3 separate regions of the Homo sapiens genome follow, and regions 1 and 3 are each linked to region 2. The links are contacts of gene promoters, found by promoter capture Hi-C in human tissues and cell types (Jung and others, 2019). All regions are on one chromosome and are shown on one strand. Each heading gives the region's core, a stretch centred on a gene start or on the middle of the fragment in contact. The rest is flanking DNA. Distances are from core to core; before and after follow the strand shown. Region 1 overlaps ERBB3 (erb-b2 receptor tyrosine kinase 3). Region 2 holds the start of APOF (apolipoprotein F). Region 3 overlaps PTGES3 (prostaglandin E synthase 3).

Evidence for each region. Contacts are between HindIII fragments. The study calls those that stand out against the background at their distance.
Region 1: a fragment that was not itself captured here is called in contact with the fragment with the promoter of APOF in region 2 in 1 of the 25 tissues and cell types used here (hippocampus).
Region 3: a fragment that was not itself captured here is called in contact with the fragment with the promoter of APOF in region 2 in 2 of the 25 tissues and cell types used here (liver and spleen).

What each region holds. Positions count from the first base shown.
Region 1 is chr12:56,086,399-56,091,130 of GRCh38, reverse strand. It overlaps ERBB3 (erb-b2 receptor tyrosine kinase 3), which reads right to left. Exons shown (of 28, transcript NM_001982.4): 4 at 4,475-4,600; 5 at 3,489-3,554; 6 at 3,218-3,336; 7 at 2,969-3,110; 8 at 2,475-2,588; 9 at 2,263-2,383. Among named protein-coding and RNA genes, the nearest start is that of ERBB3, 8.6 kb to the right of the region's middle. The HindIII fragment of the contact is 6,453 bases long and covers 256-4,732 here.
Region 2 is chr12:56,361,499-56,365,754 of GRCh38, reverse strand. APOF (apolipoprotein F) reads left to right here and starts at 2,898. Exons shown (of 2, transcript NM_001638.4): 1 at 2,898-3,025; 2 at 3,566-4,256. The coding sequence starts at 3,010. The HindIII fragment of the contact is 13,203 bases long and covers 1-3,310 here.
Region 3 is chr12:56,661,430-56,665,994 of GRCh38, reverse strand. It overlaps PTGES3 (prostaglandin E synthase 3), which reads left to right. Exons shown (of 8, transcript NM_006601.7): 7 at 1,195-1,219; 8 at 1,497-2,646. The coding sequence ends at 1,516. Among named protein-coding and RNA genes, the nearest start is that of ATP5F1B, 18 kb to the right of the region's middle. RefSeq lists a silencer at 4,163-4,212. The HindIII fragment of the contact is 7,230 bases long and covers 1-4,565 here.

The sequences.
Region 1 (4,732 bases), core at 2,233-4,732, 280 kb after region 2:
GACCTTGTCTCAAAAAAAAACTACAAAAACTTGAATCTAATCATGAGGACACATCAAACTAATCCAAACTGAAGAACATGCTGCCCATTACCTAATCTATACTCATCAAGAATATCATGAAAGATAAACAAAACCTGAGGAGCTGTTATAAAGGAGATTGAAGTGCCACGATAACTGAATGTAATGTATGATCCCAAACCTTAGGAGGACAATTAGTGAAATCTGAATAAGGTCTGTAGCTTAGATAATATTTTGTGTTAATGTTAATTTTCCGATTCAAACAACTATGCTGTGGTTATGTAAGAAAATATTATTTTTAAGGAATATACGCTGAAATATAACAGGGGTAAGAAAGAACCATGTGTGAAAATTTACCCTCACGTGGTCCAGAAAAACAATAGCATGTGTTTTGTGTGTGTGTGTGTGTGTGTAGAGAGAGACAGAGAGAGAGAGAAGTGATAAAGCGTATGTGGTATTTTTTTTGGCGGGGGACAGAGTCTCGCTCTTTCACCAGGCTGGAGTGCAGTGCCGCGATCTCGGCTCACTGCAACCTCTGCCTGCCAGGTTCAAGCTATTCTCCTGCCTCAGCCTCCTGAGTAACTGGGACTACAGGCGCACACCACCACGCCCAGCTAATTTTTGTATTTTTAGTAGAGATGAGGTTTCACCATGTTGGCCAGGATGGTCTCAATCTCTTGACCTCGTGATCCACACCTAGTGATCCACCTGCCTCAGCCTCCCAAAGTGCTGGGATTATAGGCATGAGCCACTGTGCCCGGCCATATGTGGTATGTTAACATTTGGAGGATCTGGGTAAAAGAGTGTATGGGGGGCCAGACGCGGTGGCTCACACTTGTAATCCCAACACTTTGGGAAGCTGGGGCGGGTGGATCACTTGAGGTCAGGAGTTCGAGACCAGCCTGGCCTACATGGTGAAACCCTGTCTCTACTAAAAATACAAAAATTAGCCGGGCATGATGGCACACACCTATAATTCCAGCTACTCAGGAGACTGAGGCAGGAGAATTGCTTGAACCCGGGAGGCAGAGGAGGCGGAGGTTGCAGTGAGCCAAGATTGCACCACTGCACTCTAGCCTGGGGAACAGAGTGAGACTTTGTCTTAAAAAAAAAAAAAAAGTATATGGGGAATTTTATACCATTCTTGCAACTTTAGTGTAGATCTAAAATTATGTCAAAATAAAAAATTAAAGGAAAAAAAAAAACAGGTGGTCATAGTGGGTTTTTTTTACACACACACACACATTTTAAATGCTGTCCTATAGACTAGAAAGTCCCTTTGTTCTTTTTGCTCCAAGGAGCAGAATGAGTGAAAACAGCTAAAAGTCATGGGGAGACAGAATTTTCTTTTCTTTTCTTTTTTTTTTTTGAGAAAGAGTCTCGCTCTGTCGCCAGGCTGGAGTGCGGTGGTGTAATCTCGGTTCACTGCAATTTCCGCCTCCTGGGTTCAAGTGATTCTCGTGCCTCAGCCTCCTGAGTAGCTGGGATTACAGGCATGTGCACCACCACACCCAGCTAATTTTTGTGTTTTTAGTAGAGATGGCATTTCACCATGTTAGCCAGGATGGTCTCGATCTGACCTCGTAATCCGCCCACCTCGGCCTCCCAAAGTGCTGGGATTATAGGCATGAGCCACCGGGCCCAGCCTGGAGACAGATTTTTATCCAAATCTAAGGAAGAACTTTTACAAAACTTTAAGAAGGAGGTTGGGTGCTGTGATCCCTAGCACTTTGGGAGGCCAAGATGGGAGGATTGCTTGAGCACAGGAGTTCGAGATCAGCCTGGGCAACATAGCAAGACCCTGTCTCTACAAAAAAATACAAAAAAATTAGTCAAGTATGATGGTGTGTGCCTATAGTCCCAGCTACTTGGGATCACTTGAGCCCAGGAGGTCGAGGCTACAGTGAGTCGAGATCACGCCACTGCACTCCAGCCTAGGTGACAGAGCAAGACCCTATCTCAAAAAAGAAAAAAGAATAAAAAAGAAAACTTTAAGAAGGAGGATATGTTGTTCCTGTCCCTTGTTCCTTGGCAGGGCGATATTGAATTGCTCAAAGATGTTCCTGAGGGGACCGAAGGCCTGGATGGAGGATGTGTTAAGCATTCTTTCAGGTCCTTTGTAACAGGCTAGAATTTTATGACTTTGATTCCTAGTCAGCTCCACATAGGAAAGTTTTGGCCAATGAAATGAACTGTGAGGGGTGCGTGGGCTGGGGTCTAAGGAGGGAAGGCAGGATCTCTAACCCATTGAGGCCGGTGATCAGAAAGTCCAGGTTGCCCAGGATCTTGGTGCAGTTCACAAATCCATCAATGTTGCTCGAGTCCACAGTCTGGAAGCGGCTCCCAGAGCCTGTTCCCTCACAGGCTGCAAATGTAAGAGAGGTTCAGTGGGGGTGGTCTGCGCAGGCTCAGAGGAAAGGCTGTCTCTTTACAACTTCTTACCATCTCCTACCCACCTTTGGGACATAGTCCCCCACAAGGCTCACACATCTTGAGCCCATTTTTATCTACTTCCATCTTGTCAGGAGGACAGGCCCTGACACAGGATGTTTGATCCACCACAAAGTTATCTAGGGAAGAGGAGGAGGACACCATTAGAGATGAGGGAGGAACATCACCAGCTACCAATGGAACCCTTGCTCTGGGCCTAGGCTCCCTCCAGCTCTGCACTGGATTTGTCCCCATCTGCCACCCTAGATCCCTTAAGTGCTGCCCTATAGATTCAAAAGTCTCTTCACTATTTGTTGCTACAAGGAGCAGAAGTAAGGGTGATAGCTGAAGTCATGGGAGGACTGGACGTAAGGGTCACTCACTGGAGTGGTTAGATGATCATAACCATTCACCAATCTCCCTATTTATCACCAACTGGATTCTTTTTCCCTTCCACAATTTTGTCTAAAATCTTGGATCTACTATTGTTGATCATTGTTCCTTCCCCTCAGACACTTACGGGGACAGCTGGCTACACAAACTCCTCCATACTGATACTTGGTGTGGGGATTGGGTTCCAGCTGGAAAGTTAGCTTGTTGTAGACAAGAGGCTGTGGACAGCGAGGTACACAGGCTCCACTGTCATTGAAGTGCCGGCAGGCCTGGGAAAAAAGGAGGCTCATCAGATTTATGTTACGTGTGTACCCCTACCTCCTCCTCAAAGGCCACATCCCAATTTCAGAACCCAGGCAATGGAAAGGGTACATACAAAGCAGTCTGTGTCCTGAGGGCCTGAGCAGCCCCCGGCACACTCATCATGGCAGCACTGGTTGGGGTTGGGCCCAAAGCAGTGACCATTACACTGAGGAGCACAGATGGTCTTGGTCACTATGGAAGGAGAGAAAGCATGGCTGTTAGGGCTCCTAGGACTGAATTCTGAGGCCACTGCTCATGCCTCCCCCACAGTGTTGACCCAGGCTTGGGGAGGAAGGGATATGAAAGCGTATGAGTGAAGTTTTTGGAGGGAATTTCAAACCCACATGTCTGGCAGTCTTCTGATCCAGGACCCCAGCATCGCCCCTTGCAAACCTCATGACAGGGGGGACCTGGTTGGGAAGGAAGGCAACACAAGGGGCCATCAGGGCTAAGAAAGGCTTGTTTTAATCAACGGGGTATGATGTCAGTACACAGGCACCTCAATCCCGGGAAGCAAAAAGCCAGGGCTGTGTCCCTCCCTGCCCTTGGAGAGCAGGGCTGGGCTCAAGTGGACCTGTCAACAAGGGGCGCGGCCACGCCTCCACACCACCCACTGGGCAGCTGAAGGGGAGGGACTGGGGCAAATGCCAACCTTAGTCCTAGTCCCAACCCAGGAACTTAGTTCCTCCTGGGCAAACTGAATATATGCAGGAATATATGCATGTGAATGGTCAGGGGAAGGTGGGCTCCAAGGAAATGGGAGTATATTCTAGTGGAACGAGTAACAGATGTGGAGTCTAAAGATCTGGCTTCCCTGCTTAGTACTCAGGGATTTTTTTTTTTTTTTTTTGAGACAGGGTCTCACTCTGTTGCCCAGGCTAGAGTACAATGGCACAATCACAGCTCACTGCAGCTGCAGCCTCCTGGGCTCAAGCAATCCTCTGCCTCAGCCTCCTGAGTAGCCGGGATTACAGGTGCGAGCCACTACGCCTGTCTGATTTTTTTAATTTTTTGTAGATTTTTTGCTATGTTACTCAGGCTGGTCTTGGACTCCTGGGCTCAAGCGATCCTCCCACCTTGGCTTCCCAAAGTGCCAGGATTATAGGCATGAGCCACCATGCTCGGCCTGCTCCTTTTCTTGAAACACCTCCTCTGTGGTTTAGATTCCAGGAGACTGGAATGGTCTGCCCTGGTGGGCTGCTGAGTCAGGGACCTGAGGTGTTTGTTCACTGGGGAGGCGGGTTCAGATCAGGAATGTAAGGATGATGGAAAGAAGGGAGTCACTCTGGTTTGGTGGGACTGGGGAGCAATCTTGATCACGGCCACTTACAGCTTCTGCCATTGTCCTTCACCACTATCTCAGCATCTCGGTCCCTCACGATGTCCCTCCAGTCAATTGTGTCCATGTGACAAAGCTTATCGTTCTTCTCAATATAAACACCCCCTGACAGAATCTCTGAGGTAGGGAAAGAAGTGACAGGGTTAAGGGCCGCAGCGGAACGCCTCTTCCTTACCTCTCCACCCATCCAAAAGGACACCTGAGACTCAGGAGTGGGAGAATGAGGCAGACAGATAGGTCCAATTAAAT
Region 2 (4,256 bases), core at 1,649-4,148:
GCTGGCTCAAGCCTGTAATCCCAGCACTTTGGGAGGCCAAGGTGGGCAGATCACCTTAGGTCAGGGGTTCAAGATCAGCCTGGCCAACATGAAGAAACCCCGTCTCTACCAAAAATACAAAATTAGCCGGGAATGGTGGCACACGCCTGTAATCCCAGCTACTTGGGAGGCTGAGGCAGGAGAATCACTTGAACCTGGGAGGCGGAGGTTGCAGTGAGCTGAGATCGCGCCATTGCACTCCAGCCTGGTCAACAAGAGCGAAACTCCGTCTCAGAAAAAAAAAGAAAAGAAAAATGGTTTAGGGGTCCCAGAGATCACCAGCTATTCTGCCTTACCCTTTCTCCCCTCAAGAAGATACGGAGGACCTTTTCCTCAGCTCAAATATAGGTTTAGGGTAAAACCTTAGGATAGAAAAGATATGTCACTGGGTGCCGTGGCTCACGCCTGTAATCCCAACACTTTGGGAGGCCGAGGCAGGCAGATCATTCGAGGTCAGGAGTTTGAGACCAGCCTGACTGACATGGTGAAACTCCATCTCTACTAAAAATACAAAAACATTAGCTAGGCGTGGTGGCGCACACCTGTAGTCCCAGCTACTCGGGAGGCTGAGGCAAGAGAATCTCTTGAACCTGGGAAGTGGAGGTTGCAGTGAGCCAAGATCACGCCATTGCATTCCAGCCTGAGCAACAGAGTGAGACTGTCTCCAGAAAACAAAACAAAACAAAAATTTGCCAGGCATGGTGGTGCGTGCCTGTAATCCCAACTACTAGGGAGACTGAGACACAAGAATCGCTTGAACCCGGGATGTGGAGGTTGCAGTGAGCTGTGATCGTGCCACTGCACTCTACCCTGGGCAACAGAGTGAGACTGTGTCTCCAGAAAAAAAAAGGAAAAGAAAAAGAAAAAGAAAAAAAAAAAAAGATATGGGACAGGACTGCAGGGCCTAAAAGGGGAAAGGTCAGTTTGTCAGTATGGGTCAAAGGTGAGAAGGACAAAGTCTGGGCTGGGAAGAGATGCATAAATATTTGCAAATGTTTTGTCCTTCACTGTTTTGGAAGCCATCAACTTTCTGGTTTCCTTGTGATTCTGGGAAAGGGCAGATTAAAAACAGCAACAACAACAATAATAGTAATTCAGGTCATGAAGATACCAAAGCAAATGAGATGTTTGGACTGTTTTTTTCCTCTGACTTGTTTCTCCTCAAAATAGGAGGATCACCCACATCCTTTAAGAGTGAAGATGAGGTGTGCTCAGGGCAACCGAAGTTTCCAAGAGCTAAGACACTTTCTAGCTCTGGCCAGTCTTGGTGTCTCTTTGTCCTGAGCCTTTCTCCACTTCCCAACCTGAGCACTGCTTCCTTCCAGCAGGGCTGCTCTGCTGTCCCCCCATGGTCCAAGCTGTGCTGCTGCTTTGCTGTGTCCTGCTGTCCCTGGTGTCTGCCTTTCCAAGAAATGCTCAGAATGAGACTCTGACCCTCCAGCCATCTTTAACAGAGACTGGGCATCCATCAAACATGCTCTCCATTATTTGGAGAACATGGAGAGCCAGATTCCTCTCCCAGATCCCAGGATCTGCCAAGATCTCTTACACACAGCCCCCTCCCTAGCCCCTCTGCCTGAGTACCTGTCCAACTTAGCTCTGAGGGTGCCCTTGGAGGAGGTGGGCTGCCCAACTGAGGCCCATGTTCTGCAGTTTCAGATGCGAGGAAAGGATACCACTGAAACCCTCATCCGTGAGAGTCAAAAAGTTCAATGGGGAGGAAGGCAATACCAACATCATTGTGACGAATCTAGTAGTCCCTTAGGGAAGTGTGAATAAACCCAGCACCCAGCTGCCCATCCTGGGAAATGTATGGATGGTGGCAAATATACCCACTGGGGTAGCTGGCCTACCAGGTAGCTCAGATGGTGATTGAGTTTGCTGAGAAACCATCTCCCATGATGCTTGGTGTCACAGTTCAAAGTTTTGGGTGTCCACATCACCAAGAACTGCAGGTATGAGTCTTGGGAGCATATTGAAGAATTAGGCAAAAAGTTGAAGAAGCTCTCAAGATCATTTAAATTGTCCATGGACAGTGACAATATAATCTATCAAATGTTCCACAGCTATTCTGAAGTGCTTTGTGAGGAAAATGATCCAGGAATTGATCCCGGCTCATTTCAGCTATTCAATATCACATAAGTAATGAGTCTCCTTTCCCAGGACTGTATTCAAGGATGGCACACAGTAAGTAGTTAGAAATGTTGGAGACCACTTAGGACAGATGAATGCTCTTTATTTCACCTCTTCCCTTAAACACATATGTGACCAGTGTTAGCCTTGCCCCTCTCCACTTAGTAGGTGTCAGCTCCCCTCCTTTTTTTTTTTTAAGACGGAGTCTCACTCTGTCACCCAGGCTGGAGTGCAGTAGTGCGATCTTGGCTTACTGCAACCTCCACCTCCCGGGTTCAAGCAATTCTCCTGCCTCAGCCTCCTGAGTAGCTGGGACTACAGACGCCCACCACCACGCCTGGGTGTATATATATATATATATATATATATATTTTTTTTTTTTTAGTAGAGACAGGGTTTCACCATATTGGCCAGGCTGGTCTCGAACTCCTGACCTTGTGATCCGCCCGCCTTGGCCTCCCAAAGTGCTGGGATTACAGGCGTGAGCCACCATGCTCAGCCGCTAATTTAATTTTTAAAATGAAGAGAAATGAGAGTATCACAAACATCTCATCTTTCCTAATTCTGAATTTCCCTGGCTCCTATCATGAGCTTAGAGTGGGAATGTGGCAGGGACATACAGGAAATGCCAAAGAACAGGACTGTAGGCATAGAGGTTGAGTGTGTGACAAGGGGCACAAGGTTTGAGCAGCCAGTATAAATGGGCAAATATTTGCAGAGATTACATCCTTCACTGATCATAGGGGAAAGCAAATATCTCCTTTCCTCATGGGACACAGAACTAGGCAGAACAGGATCAGGAAGCGATCAAACCTACCAAGGCAGTCTCACTTCTCAATGACTGGACTGTGTGGTAATTTGGGGTCCCTATATATGGGTGGAAATAAAACAGAAGTCCCTGGTGACCTGTAAATGGGGGAGACCAAGTGGGAGCAACTGGGGTGCATTTCCTATTTCCTAGGCCTTTACCTAAAAAGAACAGAAGCTTGGGGCCAGGCGCGGTGGCTCACATCTGGAAGCCTATCACTTTGGGAGGCGGAGGTGGAAGGATCACTTGAGCCCAAAGTTCAGAACTAGGCTGGGCCAGATGGCAAAACCACGTCTCTACAAAAAATTTAAAAATTAGCTGGGCATGGTGTCACGCACCTGTAGTCCCAGCTGCTTGGGAGGCTGAGGCAGGAGGATCCCTCGAGCCCAGGAATTCAAGGCAGCAGTGATTTGTGATCCCATCACTGCACTCTAGTCTGGGCAACAGAGCAAGACCCTGTCTCTAAAAAGAAAGTACAAAAGCTTGGAAGCAGGTGATGTATGAGGTGTCCCCCTAACTGAGTCTTGGGCTCACCATCGCCCTTAGGGAAATGGTTTGTATGTTTCGGATTTCTCCCCTTTCTAGGGTACTCTGCTCCAGACATGCGTGGCCTCAGACTCATCATGATACCAGTTGAGCTGCTACTTTGCTACCTCCTGCTGCACCCTGTGGATGCCACTTCATATGGAAAGCAGACAAATGTCTTGATGCACTTTCCCTTGTCCTTGGAATCCCAGACACCCTCCTCAGACCCCTTGTCCTGCCAATTTCTGCACCCAAAGTCACTGCCTGGTTTCAGCCACATGGCCCCTCTACCCAAGTTCTTGGTAAGCCTGGCTCTAAGGAATGCCCTGGAGGAAGCTGGTTGTCAGGCTGATGTTTGGGCTCTACAGCTACAGCTCTACCGCCAGGGTGGTGTGAATGCTACACAGGTCCTCATCCAGCATCTTCGAGGGCTCCAGAAAGGCAGAAGCACAGAGAGGAACGTGTCAGTGGAAGCCCTGGCCTCTGCTCTGCAGCTGTTAGCCAGGGAGCAGCAAAGCACAGGAAGGGTCGGGCGCTCCCTCCCGACAGAGGACTGTGAGAATGAGAAGGAGCAAGCTGTGCACAATGTAGTCCAGCTGCTGCCAGGAGTGGGAACCTTCTACAACCTGGGCACAGCTTTGTATTATGCTACTCAAAACTGCCTGGGCAAGGCCAGGGAACGAGGCCGAGATGGGGCCATAGATCTGGGATATGACCTTCTGATGACCATGGCTGGGATGTCAGGGGGGCC
Region 3 (4,565 bases), core at 691-3,190, 300 kb before region 2:
GATTAGATTTCCAAAGAATCATTGTATAGAGACATTATATATTAATACCGTACTCAATTATAACAGTCAGTTTAGGCCGGGCGAGGTGGCTCATGTCTGTTATCCCAGCAGGCCAGGTGGGCAGAGTACGTGAGGTCAGGAGTTCGAGACCAGCCTGGCCAACATGGTGAAACCCTGTCTTAAAAACTTAGCCAGACATGATGGCAGGTGCCTGTAATCCCAGCTACTGGTGAGCTGAGGTGGGAGAATCGCTTGAACCTGGGAGGCGGAGGTTGCAGTGAGCCAAGATCACACCATTGCACTCCAGTGTGGGCAGCAGAGCGAGGCTCCATCTCAAAAAGAAAGAAGAGAGTCAGTTTATAGGTATGATTTTGACTAAGAAAGTAAGTTAAATAGGTTTTATGTCAGGATTGGTCAGAGACCGATAAAACAGATGGACATTGGGAGGCGGAGATGGGTGGATCATGCGGTCAAGAGTTTCAGGCCAGCCTGGCCAAGATGGCGAAACCCCATCTCTACTAAAAATACAAAAATTAGCCGGGCATGGTGGCGGGTGCCTGTAATCCCAGCTACTTGGGAGGCTGAGGCAGGAGAATCGCTTGAACCCGGGAGGCAGAGGTTGCAGTGAGCCGGATCTCGCCACTGCACTGTAGCCTGGGTGACAGAGCAAGACTCCATCTCCCCCCACCCAAAAAAAAAAAAAAAAAAAAGATGGACATTGGAAATCTGTAAGAGGAAGATACACTAAACTACTTTTCTCAACATCTTTCCAACCCCAGCATCCTGTTAACATCTCCCAGAAAGTTATTTAATGCTATTTAGAAAAACACTTAATATTCACTCAACAGCTAGGATTAGAGTTCACTGTCTTCTATCAGTCCATTTTTCTTCATATTGATCCATGTTTTCTCTTTGAATGCCGAGATAGGTTAATTTAGGAATGGATTCAACGGGTGGGCTAAATTGTCACCAAAAGGCACACATCATTTTTTATAGGTAGATAAATCCTCTGCTGTACATCCATTCACCTTAGGTAAACCTAGTCAAGTCCAATGACTAAATTTCTAGGCTTGATATGACTACCTACCTGTGCTACTTTAGTCAAAAATATAGCACTTGAACTTTTTTAGGTAAACTGTTCAGTTAGCAAACGAATATTTGATCAGCTCGGTAACTTTATTTTCCCTCTTTCAGGATTCACAAGACAGTGATGATGAAAGTAAGTGTATATAAAAAGTATGTTTATACAGTGATACTTTGCATCAAAAAACAAACTCAAAATAGAGATGTTAACTTCTTTGGAAGTAAAGTAATTTTTTCTTTATGACCTTGAATAAATAACCAAAGCAGAAATGTGAATAACTTGATAGCAAGACAACCTATTAATTCATTGGGCAACTATGTATTTCGATTTTTGGTTGCTTTTCCTTTAAGACAGTAAAATTGGTAGATTATTCACTTGTACTATATACTAATATTTTTAAAAATTCTTTCAGAAATGCCAGATCTGGAGTAAGGAATATTGTCATCACCTGGATTTTGAGAAAGAAAAATAACTTCTCTGCAAGATTTCATAATTGAGAGAATTCCTGAGTTGATAGCTCTAAAGGCAGATATGCTGTATTTGCCTACTTTAACCCATTTTTCAACCTGTTTGTTTTTTAAAAGGCTTCACTAAGGGTTGATATGTACCATTGTATGGGGCAATTTTAAGTCAGCTAAGGCAATAACCTTATGCATGAACATTTCCCAGACTTTCATGAAGCTGTTGAGGTCCTAGGCAATTAATGCAGCAGTTGCGATAAATAAAAACATCTCACCTAAGTCTCCTTTTCTTCATAACATAGATACTGACATGATAGGAAGCTCTCAGCTTAGGGAAAGAGAATAAATTTTAGATTATAGAACATGGATTCAAAAGTGACTGGAACAAATTGGCTGACACCTTACTGGTAACCTGCTATTCTTCTGGTGTTATCCTTCAGGATTGTTCCACTAAAATTTATTTTTCAAAAAATTTACTTCACATTATTCTATGTAAGTGATGACTTGTCAGTGTTCCAGGTGTATCTTAGCTAAAACTAGAGAATGCCCTAACTTAGATGGTTTTTGAAGCCTATACAATTGGTATTGTTTGACCCTTAAGCTTTTACATCTCTTAGCATGGAGGACGAAGAAAGCTGTACATTGTTGCTTGAGAGTCTGTACATTTAGTCCAGATTTGTATTTGCACTGTCAGTATGGCAAATGAGTGAAAAATGTTTAATACACTATTGGATTTTTTATTTCCTTTTTTTGATTCAGCTTATACCCGGGCTGAAAACCTCAATTTATGTTCATGACAGTGGGGATTTTTTTAAATGTCTACATTCTTTCTAATAAACTGTTGGAAGACTTCTTGGCTGTCCTTTTAAGTGTCTGGCTTACTGTAATTTTTATGTATTTACCATTTACTGGAATGGAGTTTATTTGAGGAAGAATTTGGGATTATTCCTCTGTTTGAAAAAAGAGGCTTGCTGTAATGTCACAGGAAACCTTTTAAAAGTGGATCTGTAATAGCATATTGTAGATGCACTTTGCAGCAGTTGGAAAAGAAAGTGTTGTGTGATTTGATTGAAATAAAACTAAATGTGTTGTCCTCCTAAATCTTTGAACTTCTGCATTTTGGCAGTTTTCATTCCCTCACAGCTTCTGTATTTGTCATAATGTAGAAACACTATGTATTTTAGTGTTTCTTTGTCAGATATTCAGGACCTGTGTTGCAGGCAGTTAAAGTGCTGGTGATACAAAGATTAATATTTCAGATGATTGCTGAGCTCAGAGAGCTCACAGGCTAGGGGAGACAAACATGAGACAAAAACTTGATGGAAAGTGCGATAATAGATACGCATAATGTATTACGATGTGTAGTTCTTAGCTTCAGGGGGGAAAACATTTTAAAAAAACTTGTTTTTCTTCAAAAAATTTATACTTCAGTTTTGGGAATTAATGATTCACTGGCTTACTGCCCAGCCTTGAAACGCATTATACAGGCCGGCACGGTGGCTCCCACCTGCCTTTAATCACAGCACTCTGGGAGACTGAGGCGGGCAGATTGCTTGAGACCAGCCTGGGCAATGTGGTGAAACTCCCTTTTTTTTTTTTTTTTTTTTTTTTTTGGAGACGGAGTGTTGCCCTGTTGCCCAGTGCAACTTCCACCCTCCAGGTTCAATCGATTATCCTGCCTCAGCCTCCTGACTAGCTGGGATTATAGGCGCACTCCACGTACCCAGCTAATTTTATTTTTAGTAGAGCTGGGTTTTCACCATGTTGGCTAGGCTGGTCTCGGACTCCAGCCTGCCTCGGCCTCCCAAAGAGCTGGGATTATAGGCAGGAGTCACCACGCCCGGCCTGCGAAACCCCATCTTGACAAAAAAATAGCTGGGTGTGGTGGCATGTTCTTGTAATCCCAACTACTCTGGAAGCTGAGGTGGGAAGATCACTTGAGCCTGGGCCATTGGGGATGCAGTGAGCCAAGATTGCACCACGAACTTTTCTGTAGACAAGTGTCTCAAAAGCCGGGCACGGTGGCTCACGCCTGTAATCCTAGCACTTTGGGAGGCTGAGGCGGGAGGATCGCCTGAGATCAGGAGTTCAAAACTAGCCTGGCCAACATGGTGAAACCCTGTCTCTACTAATAATCCAAAAAAATCAGCCAGGCGTGGTGGTACATGCCTGTAACCCCAGCTACTCAGGAGGCTGAGGCAGGAGAATCGCTTGAACCCAGGAGGCAGAGGTTGCAGTCAGCCCAGATTGTACCATTGCACTCCATCCTGGGCTGCAAGTGAAACTCCATCTCAAAACAAAAAGACGGTCTTGCCCAGGCTGGAGTGCAGTGGTGCAATCATATCTCAAGCACCACACCTGGTGGACTTTATTCATATATTTTGTAGAGATGGGTCTCCATGTTTCCCAAGCTGGTCTCGAACTCCTAGGCTCAAGTGATATGCCTGCCTTGGCCTCCACAAGTGCCAGTATTAAGGTGTGTGTCACTGTGTGTCACCTGGCTATAATTTTAAATATTTTGTGTTCAAACATTTGAACAGGTTTTCATCAGTCCTTATTGCTTAGGTATCAGACCTTGTGCGTTGTACCTCATCTCTAATTCAAAGCTTCTGTTAAGAACATTTTCTGGGGCGGGCAAGGTGGCTCAATTCTGTAATCACACCATTGAGGCGCCACTGCACTCCAGCCTGGGCGGCAGAGCGAGACTGTCTCAAAAAATGTTCTGGGCTGGGCGTGGTGACTCATGCCTGGCCAACATGGCAAAACCCCCTCTCAAAAAAAAAAAATGATCAATTTAAGATTGTGAGTGAAATTTTTTAAGTTTAGATGAATGGGTATAGCATATTTTTTGTCCATATTGATAGGTTGTGATATTGGTGCTATACGGTTCCCTAAACTTAGCTATTTCCAAGGAGGGCAGATTGAGGGTGATTGCTACAGTAGCATGAAGGTTTTCTCCCCCATTTTAGTTCTAAGCTAATTGAAATTTCTCCTGTTTAGCAGGAATTCTTTTGAGAAAT